4 separate regions of the Homo sapiens genome follow, and all the other regions are linked to region 4. The links are contacts of gene promoters, found by promoter capture Hi-C in blood cells and fetal thymus (Javierre and others, 2016). All regions are on one chromosome and are shown on one strand. Each heading gives the region's core, a stretch centred on a gene start or on the middle of the fragment in contact. The rest is flanking DNA. Distances are from core to core; before and after follow the strand shown. Region 1 overlaps ZFY (zinc finger protein Y-linked). Region 2 has its middle 31 kb from the start of RPS4Y1. Region 3 has its middle 38 kb from the start of ZFY. Region 4 holds the start of ZFY (zinc finger protein Y-linked).

Evidence for each region. Contacts are between HindIII fragments. The CHiCAGO score rates a contact against its expected background, and 5 or more counts as called.
Region 1: a fragment that was not itself captured here is called in contact with the fragment with the promoter of ZFY in region 4 in 14 of 17 cell types (naive CD4 T cells, non-activated CD4 T cells, neutrophils and 11 more); the score reaches 13.5 in naive CD4 T cells.
Region 2: a contact is called between a fragment that was not itself captured here and the fragment with the promoter of ZFY in region 4, in 9 of 17 cell types (naive CD4 T cells, naive CD8 T cells, total CD8 T cells and 6 more). The highest score is 10.9, in naive CD4 T cells.
Region 3: a contact is called between a fragment that was not itself captured here and the fragment with the promoter of ZFY in region 4, in 13 of 17 cell types (M0 macrophages, naive CD4 T cells, naive CD8 T cells and 10 more). The highest score is 10.4, in M0 macrophages.

The regions. Positions count from the first base shown.
Region 1 is chrY:2,975,303-2,978,002 of GRCh38, reverse strand. It overlaps ZFY (zinc finger protein Y-linked), which reads right to left. Exons shown (of 8, transcript NM_003411.4): 5 at 2,349-2,492; 6 at 1,181-1,333; 7 at 1-63. All of the region lies in intron 2 of ZFY-AS1 (ZFY antisense RNA 1), which reads left to right. Among named protein-coding and RNA genes, the nearest start is that of ZFY-AS1, 26 kb to the left of the region's middle. The HindIII fragment of the contact is 3,777 bases long and covers 1-2,700 here.
Region 2 is chrY:2,871,702-2,874,401 of GRCh38, reverse strand. No RefSeq gene overlaps it. Among named protein-coding and RNA genes, the nearest start is that of RPS4Y1, 31 kb to the right of the region's middle. The HindIII fragment of the contact is 6,134 bases long and covers 1-2,700 here.
Region 3 is chrY:2,896,243-2,898,942 of GRCh38, reverse strand. No RefSeq gene overlaps it. Among named protein-coding and RNA genes, the nearest start is that of ZFY, 38 kb to the left of the region's middle. The HindIII fragment of the contact is 1,599 bases long and covers 578-2,176 here.
Region 4 is chrY:2,933,972-2,936,671 of GRCh38, reverse strand. It overlaps ZFY (zinc finger protein Y-linked), which reads right to left and starts at 1,291. Exons shown (of 8, transcript NM_003411.4): 1 at 903-1,291. The HindIII fragment of the contact is 5,223 bases long and covers 1-2,700 here.

The sequences.
Region 1 (2,700 bases), core at 180-2,679, 41 kb before region 4:
CATCTATGTGCAAGAGGGCACTTGCAGTGCCATTCCGGTTTTCAATTCCATCAGAATTATTACCTAACAATGTGCATTAAAACACAGAATTACACAACATTATAAATTCTAAAGAATTACGAATTCTTTATTAACAACAAGAAGTCCTGACACTCATGAATGACAGAAAGTCCTTACTTTATTTATTTTTATTCTTTTTTTTTTTTTTTTTTTTTTTTTTTTGAGACAGAGTCTTGCTCTGTCACCCAGGCTGGAGTACAGAGGTGTAATCTTGGCTCACTGCAACCTCCTCCTCTCAGGTTCAAGTGATTATCCTGCCTCAGCATCCTGAATAGCTGGGATTACAGGAACAACGCCATCACACCCATCTCATTTTTTTGTATTTTTAGTAGAGAGGAGGTTTCACCATATTGGCCAGGCTGATCTTGAACTCCTGACCTCAGGTCATCCACCTGCCTCAGACTCCCAAAGTGCTGGGATTACAGGCAAGAGCCACACCTGGCCCCCAATTGTAGACCATGTGTTTTATGGGCATATATATGGCAAGACCAGGGGAAGTGCCTAGCTTCCGTATCTAGCAGCATGCTGCTCTACTGGACTCCCTGCTATCTCCCAAAAATTGTAAAGTTATGTGTCACCTATAAACCAAGATTTAAAATGTTAGACTGAAAGCTCCCACACTTCTTACATAATAAAAGAAGTTCATGTTAAAATTAAAGGCAACAGGGAGACTATTTAATCCTCCTCTACTTTTGCTTAAATCATGAAACCCTAAAAAAAACCCTTTTTTTTTTTTTTTTTTTTTTTTTTTTTTTTTTTTTTGAGATGGAGTCTTGCTCTGCTGCCCAGGCTGGAGTGCAGTGGCGCAATCTCAGCTCACTGCAAGCTCCACCTCCCAGGTTCACGCCATTCTCCTGCCTCAGCCTCCTCAGTAGCTGGGATTACAGGTGCCTGCCACCACGTCTGGCTAATTTTTTAAAAATATTTTTTAGTAGAGACAGGGTTTCACCATGTTAGCCAGGATGGTCTCAATCTCCTGACCTCGTGATCCGCCTGCCTCAGCCTCCCAAAGTGCTGGGATTACAGACATGAGCCACCACGCCTGGCCAACAGAAACCACTTTCAACAGTGAATTAATGTTCAAAAACTACTCAATCCTTCTGGCTTCTATGTAAGTTACCATAAGCTGCTGCCCATGCAATTGGTACGAAGGTTTTCATTTCATCCTCATCAATTTGCTGCTCATGCACAGCAGCTGCTGCTGCTGCAACAGCAGCATCCTCCTCTCCTACGATCACTTCCATATAAACTTCATCAGCAATTTCAGCAACATCTAAGCACAAAATAAATAAAAAATTTTTTGTGACTAGGTTTACAGAGATCACACAGAAAAAATTCATTAGTAGGAAAAAATAAACATTGGTTGAATTATTCGTTTCTTGGCTTTCACCATAATTAGTTTATAAAGCAACTATCAAAACATACATAGTCACTGATATCTATTCTTGGAATACGGCAACACAGTAATCTCTACAACAGCGCTGCTTATTTTTTTTCAAATATTGGTTACATTAAAAAAAAAGACGACAGCTTGGGCAGGGCACAGTGGCTCACGCCTGTAATCCCAGCACTTTGGGAGACCAAGGTGGGCGGATCACGAGGTCAAGAGATCGAGACCATCCTGGCCAACATGGTGAAACCCTCATCTCTACTAAAAATACAAAAATTAGCTGGGTGTGGTGGCACGTGCCTGTAGTCTCAGCTACTTGGGAGGCTGAGGCAGGAGAACTGCTTGAACCCAGGAGGTGGAAGCTGCAGTGAGCGGAGATTGCTCCACTGCACTCCATCCAGCCTGGCAACAGAATAAGACTCTGTCTCAAAAAAAAAAAAAAAACACACCTTGTAGAAACATAAAACCCTCTCCCACAAAAAAAGCCACATACTGGCACATATACATCATGGAATACTATGCAGCCATAAAAAAGAATAAGCTCATGTCCTTTGCAGGGACATGGATGAAGCTGGAAACCATCATCCTCAGCAAACTAACACAAGAACAGAAAACCAAACGTCACATGTTCTCACTCGTAAGTGGGAGCTGAACAATGAGGACACATGGACACACGGAGGGGAACATCACACACTGGGGCCCACTGTGGGGTGGGGTGCAAGGGGAGAGAGAGCATTAGGACAAATACCTAATGGATGGGGGGCTTAAAAGCCTAGATGATGGGTTGATAGGTGCAGCAAACCACCATGGCACATGTATATCTATGTAACAAATCTGCACATTCAGCACATGTACCCCAGAACTTAAAGTAAAAATTTTTTTTTAAAAAGCCACATACTTAAATCTTCATCTTCTTGTTGAGAGTCATTGACAGTCATATAAACCATCTTTTCCCTGGGAACACGAATACTGCTGTTCTGATCAAGTAGTTCAACTCCATGATCATTTTCAGGTTCACTCTCCACAATGTCTACAGTTCCACCTATCAGAGAATATGAAAGCTCCAAAAATTATTTGAGAGTTCATTTTCACATATTTTGCTTACACGTTTTAGTGTATTTTTATATTACTAACTCAAAAATATGTCTTAAAAGTTGTCTTTGGAAAAGAGTTCAAATTTTCCAATCTAAATAACCTAAACTAAATGTTAAGTATCAATGAAAAAAAGTAACCTGTTTACTTTTTTTGAC
Region 2 (2,700 bases), core at 154-2,653, 62 kb after region 4:
AAATGCAGCCAGACCTGGCTTGGTTCCAAGAAAACTATGAACATATCAAAAATTAACACTAAATGTAAACACTAAATCGTTTAAATGCACCAACTAAAATATGGAGATTAGCAGTGTAGATTTAACAACATGCTCCACATATTTACTATCTACAAGAAACTCACTTTCATATAAAAGTACAGACAGGCTGAAAAGTTCAAAAGTGAAAAGCAGAACAGGAGTGGATAGATATATTACCAGATAAAGTAGACTAGAGAAGATAAAATTATCAGCGATGTAAAGGATATTGTATAATGCTAAATAAAACAACCTAGAAGAAACAGCAATCTGAACTGTCCATGCAGCAAGAAACAGAACTGAAAATATGTCAAGCAAAACCTAAAAAATATAAAAGAAAAAGACAAATCTATTATAGTTCGAAAGGCCAACATCCTTTATCAAAAAAATTCACCAGACAACTAGAAAGAAAATCAACAAAAAAGAGACCTCTCAGTAACACCATCACCCAAAACCATCTAATGAACATTTATGGAACACTCTGCTAAATGCAAAATACACATTATTTTCAAGGTTCCTCTGCCATCAAACAAAACTCAACAAATAAAAAAGAATTACAATAATCCAGTGTGTTCCCAAACTACAACAAAACTAAAGTAGAAATCAGTAAGAAAATTATAACAGGAAAATCTCCATACACTGGGACGATTATCCCTTGGGTCAAGCAAGAATCCTTCAATAATCAGAGGGTTAAAGGAAAAGTGTCAAGAAACAATAAAATAATACATTGAGCTGGATAAATTTGAAAACACATTTCAGATCAGATGAAGGTAAAAGGAGAAGGCGTGCTGACAGGTAAAATTATGGCATTAAATTAAAACATGGGAAAAGAGAATACATTTCAATAATGTACACTTCCATTTTAATAACTTGTATAGAGAAGGGCAAAAATAATCCAAAGCAAGCAAAAGGAAAAAAAATAAAGTATACAAATCTATCAAATAGAAAAGAGAAACAATAGATAAAAATCAATGAAACAGGCTGGACATGGTGGGTCACCACCTGTAATCGCAGCACTTTGGGAGGCCAACACAAGCAGATCACTTGAGATCAGGAGTTCAAGGCTAGCCTGGTCAACATGGTGAAACCCCATCTCCACTAAAAATAAATACAAAATTTAGCCAGGTTGGAGGCAGGTGCCTGTAATCCCAGCTACTTGGCAGACTGAGGCAGGAGAATCACTTGAACCTGGGATGCGGAGGTTGCAGTGAGCCAAGAGTATGCCACTGCACTCCAGCCTGGGCAACACAGTGAGACTTCATCTTAAAAAAAAAAAAAAAAAAAGTCATTGAAACACAGAATGGTTGTGTAAAGATTGATAAAATTGACCAACCTCTTTCTAGTAAGACTGACAAAGATGAAGAAATAAATATCATGATCAGGATAAAACAGGGTATTCTGCTTTACAGACCCTATACACCTTACACACACATACATACACACTCAATATGGGAATACTATAAATAATTATACACACATAAATTTGAATCTTTGACAAAATGGACACATTTCTCAGAAAGCACACAGATGCTGGGCATGGTGGCTCACCCTTGTAACCTCAACACTTTGGGAGGCTGAGGCAGGAGGACTGCTTGAGCCCAGTTAAAAACCAGCCTGGGCAAAATGGTGAGACACCATCTCTACAAATAAGTTTAAAAAAAAAATTACCATGGTGTTGGGAGCAAGCCCCCCAAAATCTGGCCATAAACTGGCCCCAAGACTGGCCATAAACAAAATTTCTGCAGCAGTGTAACATGTTCATAATGGCCCTAACGCCCAAGCTGGAAGGTTGTGGGTTTACGGGAATGAGGGCAAGGAACACCTGGCCCACCCAGGGCGGAAAACCGCTGAACGACGTTTTTAAGCCACAAACAATAGCATGAGCGATCTGTGTCTTAAGGGCGTGTTCCTGCTGCAGTTAACTAACCAAACCTATTCCTTTAATTTGGCCCATCCCTTTGTTTCCCTTAAGGGATACTTTTAGTTAATTTAATATCTATAGAAACAATGCTAATGCCTGGTTTGCTGTTAATAAATATGTGAGTAAATCTCTGTTCGGGGCACTCAGCTCTGAAGGCTGAGACCCCTGATTTCCCATTTCACACCTCTATATCTGTGTGTGTGTGTCTTTAATTCCTCCAGCGCCCGCTGGGTTAGGGTCTCCCCGACTGAACTGGTCTCAGCACCCTGGCATGGTGGTGTGTGGCTGTGGTCCCAGCTACTTGGGATACTGAGGCAGGAAGCTCACCTGAGCTCAGGAGTTTGAGTCTATTGAGAGCCATGATTATGTCACCACACTCCAGACTGAATGACAGACTGAGACTTTGTCTCAAAACAAAACAAAAACCAACAGACACAGCACTTCCACCCATCGATAGAGATACTTTAAATTGTCCCATAACTATTCACAGAATTAAATGTATAATTTAAAATGTTGACTCCTAAAAAAAAAACTCAAAAGATACCATCTAAAGAAATAACATCAATTCTACCTAATCCTATGAAAAATAGAAGATAATCTACCATATATCTTTAAGAACATAATTCTACATAATCTCTGAGAAAACAAGAGTTACAGCAAACACATTCCTAAGAGAGAATTCCATAGCAATGAACACACACATCAAAAAACAAGGAAGGCCG
Region 3 (2,700 bases), core at 128-2,627, 38 kb after region 4:
AAGAGGCCGGGCACGGTGGCTCACTCCTGTAATCCCAGCACTTTGGGAGGCCGAGGTGGGCAGATCACCTGAGGTCCAGGATTCGAGATCAGCCTGGCCAACATGGTAAAACCTCCTCTCCACTAAAAACACAAAAATTAGCTGGGCGTGGTGGTGTGCACCTGTAATCCCAACTACTCAGGAGGCTGAGGCAGGAGAATTGCTTAAACCCAGTAGGTAAAGGTTGCAGTGACCTGAGATCATGCCACTGCACTCCAGCCATGGAGACAGAGTGAGACTCTGTCTCAAAAAAAAATTTAATTTAATTAATTAATTAATTAAGATACAGTTTACAAGCATTGTAAAATGTCATGTTCTGATATAGATGTACATTGTGAAATGCTTAAATTATATGAATCCTAATTAATGTGACATTTATGGGATGACTCCTAAGGCTCTGTGAGACCAGTAAAATCATATGCAAAACTGCTTGGCTTAATGTATTTATCCAGGGGGAAAACCACACCTAATTGCTCTTAAAAGAAATTTATGGTCCCTGTGCCTCCAAGAGCTTAAATGTTAATGCCATCCTCAAGCTTCTTTTCACAATATAATCAACAATTCAAAAGATCCTTTTGAGCCATTCAGTCTATAATATCCCAAACTACCAATTTTCTAAACACTAGTTATTGACTAGCTAATCAAAAAGTCAATTATAAATAGACTCACAATCATTCACTATTTGTTGCCTAATAAAAATGAATCATTAAATAAAACTATAATTTGCTTAACTTGGGGTATTATTTGTTTAAAATAAAATATCAGGATCTTGCCTTCTACAAGCTCCAATTTTTTCAAGCATTAATAACTTCACATGATTATTTTAAGAAAAAAGACAAATACTTGCTATTTCATAGCAGAAACAAATGCTAGGATTAGAATCTGTTTTCTAAGATTATCAATTAATTAGTTAAGACAAAATATAAAAGAACTGGAAAGATCCTCATTACTTATGTAGAAGCATTTGGTGTTTGTCACCATATTTTCCAATAAGAAAAGACTGTTGAATTTTAGGAGTAACCAATGAGAAATAAGTGTAGGGCATCAGGGAGAAGGTGACTAGAACTGTCTTCACCTTCCAATTTTGCAATCTAAGAATAGAGTCAAGGGAGTTCTGGAAGTCTCTTTATGTATATTAGTGCTCATGCTCCAACTCAAAATTAAAAAAATTAATTGGATCCTATTAATTTCATTTTCACCATAAATTTTAAAGATAAGGCAAGGTAGCATACATGGGGCAAAACAGGAGCCAGTTCTGAAAGACAGTTTTTGTCTTCCCAGTTTCTACTGGTACCACAGTCCTTCAAGCCTGGACATACTAAAAACTGAATCATGAAAAAATAAAAAGAAAAACTTCATTTCAACTAGGTCCAGTGGTATTTGTGGTAAGGCAAGGGCCAGTTGTAATAAGCAATTTCATTTCAAAACTGCATGAATCTACAAATCTGGAAATGTTTAGCAATGATCAAAGTATGCTAAAATGTAGATTAAATTCACCAATATGCCAAGTTTGACATTTATTTTAGATTCTACTATTTAAGTAGTAGAAGTTGAATTTCTGTCACCAAAAAAAAAACTAATTTTGCTTTAAGTATGTAACCCGAAGTTGCTAAGAGAAATTCTGACTTCATCAAAATACATTTAATTTTGATTCTTCAGTCACCATCTACTTTTGGCTTGATGGTCATTCCTCTTCTGTTCCGACCCCATCCAATTAAATTGCAAAATGAATGTAAATGAAGACATAAATTTTAAATCCATTTGGTCAGCATTGCCACACAATCATGACATAACTGGTTTAACCTGCATAATTCTAAATTTAAATTTGTTCTCATTATATGCCCTCGTATACATAAAGGTCTGTATTATCTCTTCAGATAAGTTCTGGTCAGCATATATAAGAAAGAAAGCCAGCAAAATGTTGCCACTATATATATGCTTATCTTCCTCTATCATAATATTTCTACACATTAGGAACATTATGATATTCCTATGATATTAGAAACCAGCCAATAAAGAGCACTCTAAGTCCCTTTAAGAAGCCATGACAATACACAAAACAACTCAGCCTAATTTTTTAAAAATTTCATTATATATTCTTTTCTCCTTTAAAAATGCAAAAATGCTTTCCTAAGCTTGTCAGGAGCTGAAAAGATTAGAATAGCTTTAAATGAAAATAAGTAAAGAACTGGAAGATCATATTTTTCATAAGCATATTAGTCTTAATAGCAGAGCAAACTATGCTATGTTCTTCAAGTTTGTTCTGGCCAATAACCAGGCCAATCATTTAGGAAAAACAAAACTCACTTTAACATGGGTAAAAGCTACAATTGTAAAAATATAAGAGAAGAAGAAAAATCAGAAGAGTTGGAGACTTGAAGTCTGTAAGTCCTTGTGCTCACAACAGAAATACCAAGTAAACAACAATATACTGACCAAAGTAGTCTGTGGGAAATTTAGAAAGTAGTTACGGATCTTCTACAACTAACAAGGTATTCACTCAAGAAAAAGCACACTCATAATGGCAGGAAATTTCTACTGGTACCACAGTCCTTTGAGCCTGGAAATACTAAAAACTGAAACATGAAAGGCATTTTTGCTCGCTTTTGCCCCACCATCTACAACATGCAGTCTGGTGCAGTGACACCTTTTCCCAGTTCC
Region 4 (2,700 bases), core at 42-2,541:
ACAAGTAATGCATGAATTGTCTTTCAAAAAGAAAAATACCTCTTCTGCCTATTTTCCATCTCTTACTCAAAAAAAGTACACGGACTAAAAAAAAGCTCGCTCGTTTAAATACAGCTCATCAAAAAAGTGTTTCCACATAAATGGGAAAAGTCGCCTTGGGGAAATTTTATTCCTCTGCCCTCGTGCTGTATAATTTGTACTGTACTGTCTATTGGACGAGTGCCTAATAACTTTTTCATAATAAATTCCAGTTCTATTTTGCAGATCCTCGAAGAGGCAATGATGGTTGAAAAATAAGCGCATCGAAGGTCCCCGAACAGCCACATAATGACTTTAATTAGGGGAAAATAAAATTTTCTGGAATTTATGTGCTCTCGTGAGCCTAGATGCCCGAATTGCCACCTGCTGAAACGGGTGGCTGTAGACTCTCGGAAGGGCACAGAGCCGGGAGCGCTGAGGGGCGAAATGACCCCGGCGCCCGAACGGACGCCTGCGGCATGTCACCTAAAGCGTAGCCGACACTGCACCCAGCCAAGGATGGGCTGTGAGGGGAAGGCCGAAAGGTGGCGCTGCCGCAGGCGTCTGGAACGTACGCGCGCATATGGCGACAAAGGCAAGGGCCGCCAAGGGAACGAGCACGCCCTGTTGCGCAGACACGCCGTCGCGCCGGAGGCTGCGCTGCCGCCGCCGCCGCCGTCCTTTTCCCCATCCCCGCCTCAAGGATCATAACCGAATTTTTTTTCCAGATACCGCCTTCAAGATGGCGGCTCCGCCTCCCGACAACACTCTCAATACTCCCCAGCAGCAGGCGCCTAGCAGCCGCCATCTTGCCCCCCCGTCCCTCCTCCCCTTCGCGGACATTTACATAGCGAAAATAGGCCCAGCAGGCCTCCGGCCTTCACCTCACGCCTGCAGCCTTCGCCTTCTCGCCCCCGTGCCGTGCCCTGCGTCCGCAGTGGTGTCGACCCCAGGTCCATCAACTGCCTTCCGGACAAACGGGCGAACTTTTCCCACCCTGCCCGCTTATGGAGCGCACCTCCGCAGCCGCTCAGGGCAACTGGATAATCACTAGGCCTAACTGCGGCCTCCTCGGGGCCTGTTCGGCGCCGAGCGCCACGCCGGCCGGCCTAGCGCGGGAGGGCGCCCTACGGGACGCCGACCAGGCCACAAACAGGTTACTGCGCGCGCACTAGGCCCCGCGGCCGCGGGGGCACGCGGGACTCACCCGACGGATGTGCGGGCGGTCGGCGACAGCGGCGGGTGCTGCAGGACGGCCTTTCTCTGGAGCACTGGGCCGGGCTCCGGCTGGTAGGGCGGGCGGAGGGAGGGAGGAGGGGCCGAGTTCGGAGCTGACAAAAAGCGGCCCAGCTCCCCGGCACGGGCCCGCCGTCAGCACGTCACGTCACCGCCCGGGAGAGAGACCCAGGAAAATGCGGGATGGTAGTTGGGCCCCCTCCGCCCGGTGGGCCTCTCGGCGCCCCGGGTCGGCGCCGGTCACGCCCCGAGTCCGGGGAGTCCAGTGACCTCACTGCGGTGGGGTCTCCGGCAGCTGGAGTTTCCGTCACAACGTTCCTTTTCTCCGCGCGCCCGCCGTCACCACTACTTGCGCACCACCGCCTTAGTTGGTTGCGTGCAGGCAAGCGGCCCCGCACCGGGCCAGGCCACCCCCTGCCATCTCCGGTGGACCTGGGATTCCTAATCTCCCACACCCTGCGCCAGGCTCTCCCGAGACCTATCGCCTCTCGGCGCCAGTCCTAGCCAAGGCGACAGATCTCATTGTTGCAGGCCCTTAGACCCCCGCCCTCAGTAAACGTGTTTACTTTATTCCTAGGGTTGAGGAGGAAAGCAGATACAGACATATAGCATTCCCCACTGTCTCCTTTGTTGGCTTTAAAAAAAAAAAAAAAGAAAGTAAATGGACTTGCCACAGTGTACAGGCAAGAGGAGGGGAGGATTATCCTAATCAATTACTGAGCCAATTGATTTTTTTTTTTGCGTTAACGTAGGTATTTTGACCAAGATTTGTAATGTCTAGTGTGTGTTCTTTATGGCAGTGTTTCATCTTTTGGCATCCTTGAAATGTCAGTTTTGTGTAATTGTCTCATGAACAATGAATTATGCACACCCTTTAATAAATGTAAACTAACAATTGGTTTTGGGATTGTCTTCTTACAAAATTATTTATCCTCTTAAAGTTTAAAAAGGCTTTAGAGACTGAGAGGAAAATGCATTTGATTAAACAGATAGTACTGATGAACTCCAAAAACGTGTATTGTGCGTTTTCATTACTTTACGTTTTAATGCACTCTAATTTCCCATTAAACTAGGTACCCAAACTGTGTTTAAAAGTTGCTACTAAAAAGTTAAACATGCCTATCGCGGTCGCTCACCTCTGAGCGCTTTGGGAGGACAAGGCTGGAGTATCGCTTGAGGCCAGCAGATACAGGCGGACAGCTGTGATCAAGCCACTGCACTGCAGCCTGTGGGCCAGAGCCGGTAATCTCTAAATGTAGAGGCCAGGTATTTCAGTTTTCTAGCATACCTATTTTTAAAACTCAGAAATCATCTTGTCCTTAACTGAGAAACCTAAAAATCATAAAATGCTTTACGAAAGGAAAACCAGTGGTACATAGTTGATATAATGAGTTAAGTGCTGGATAGCAATTCTCTTTTCAAACCATTGGTTTGACCTTGTTTTCT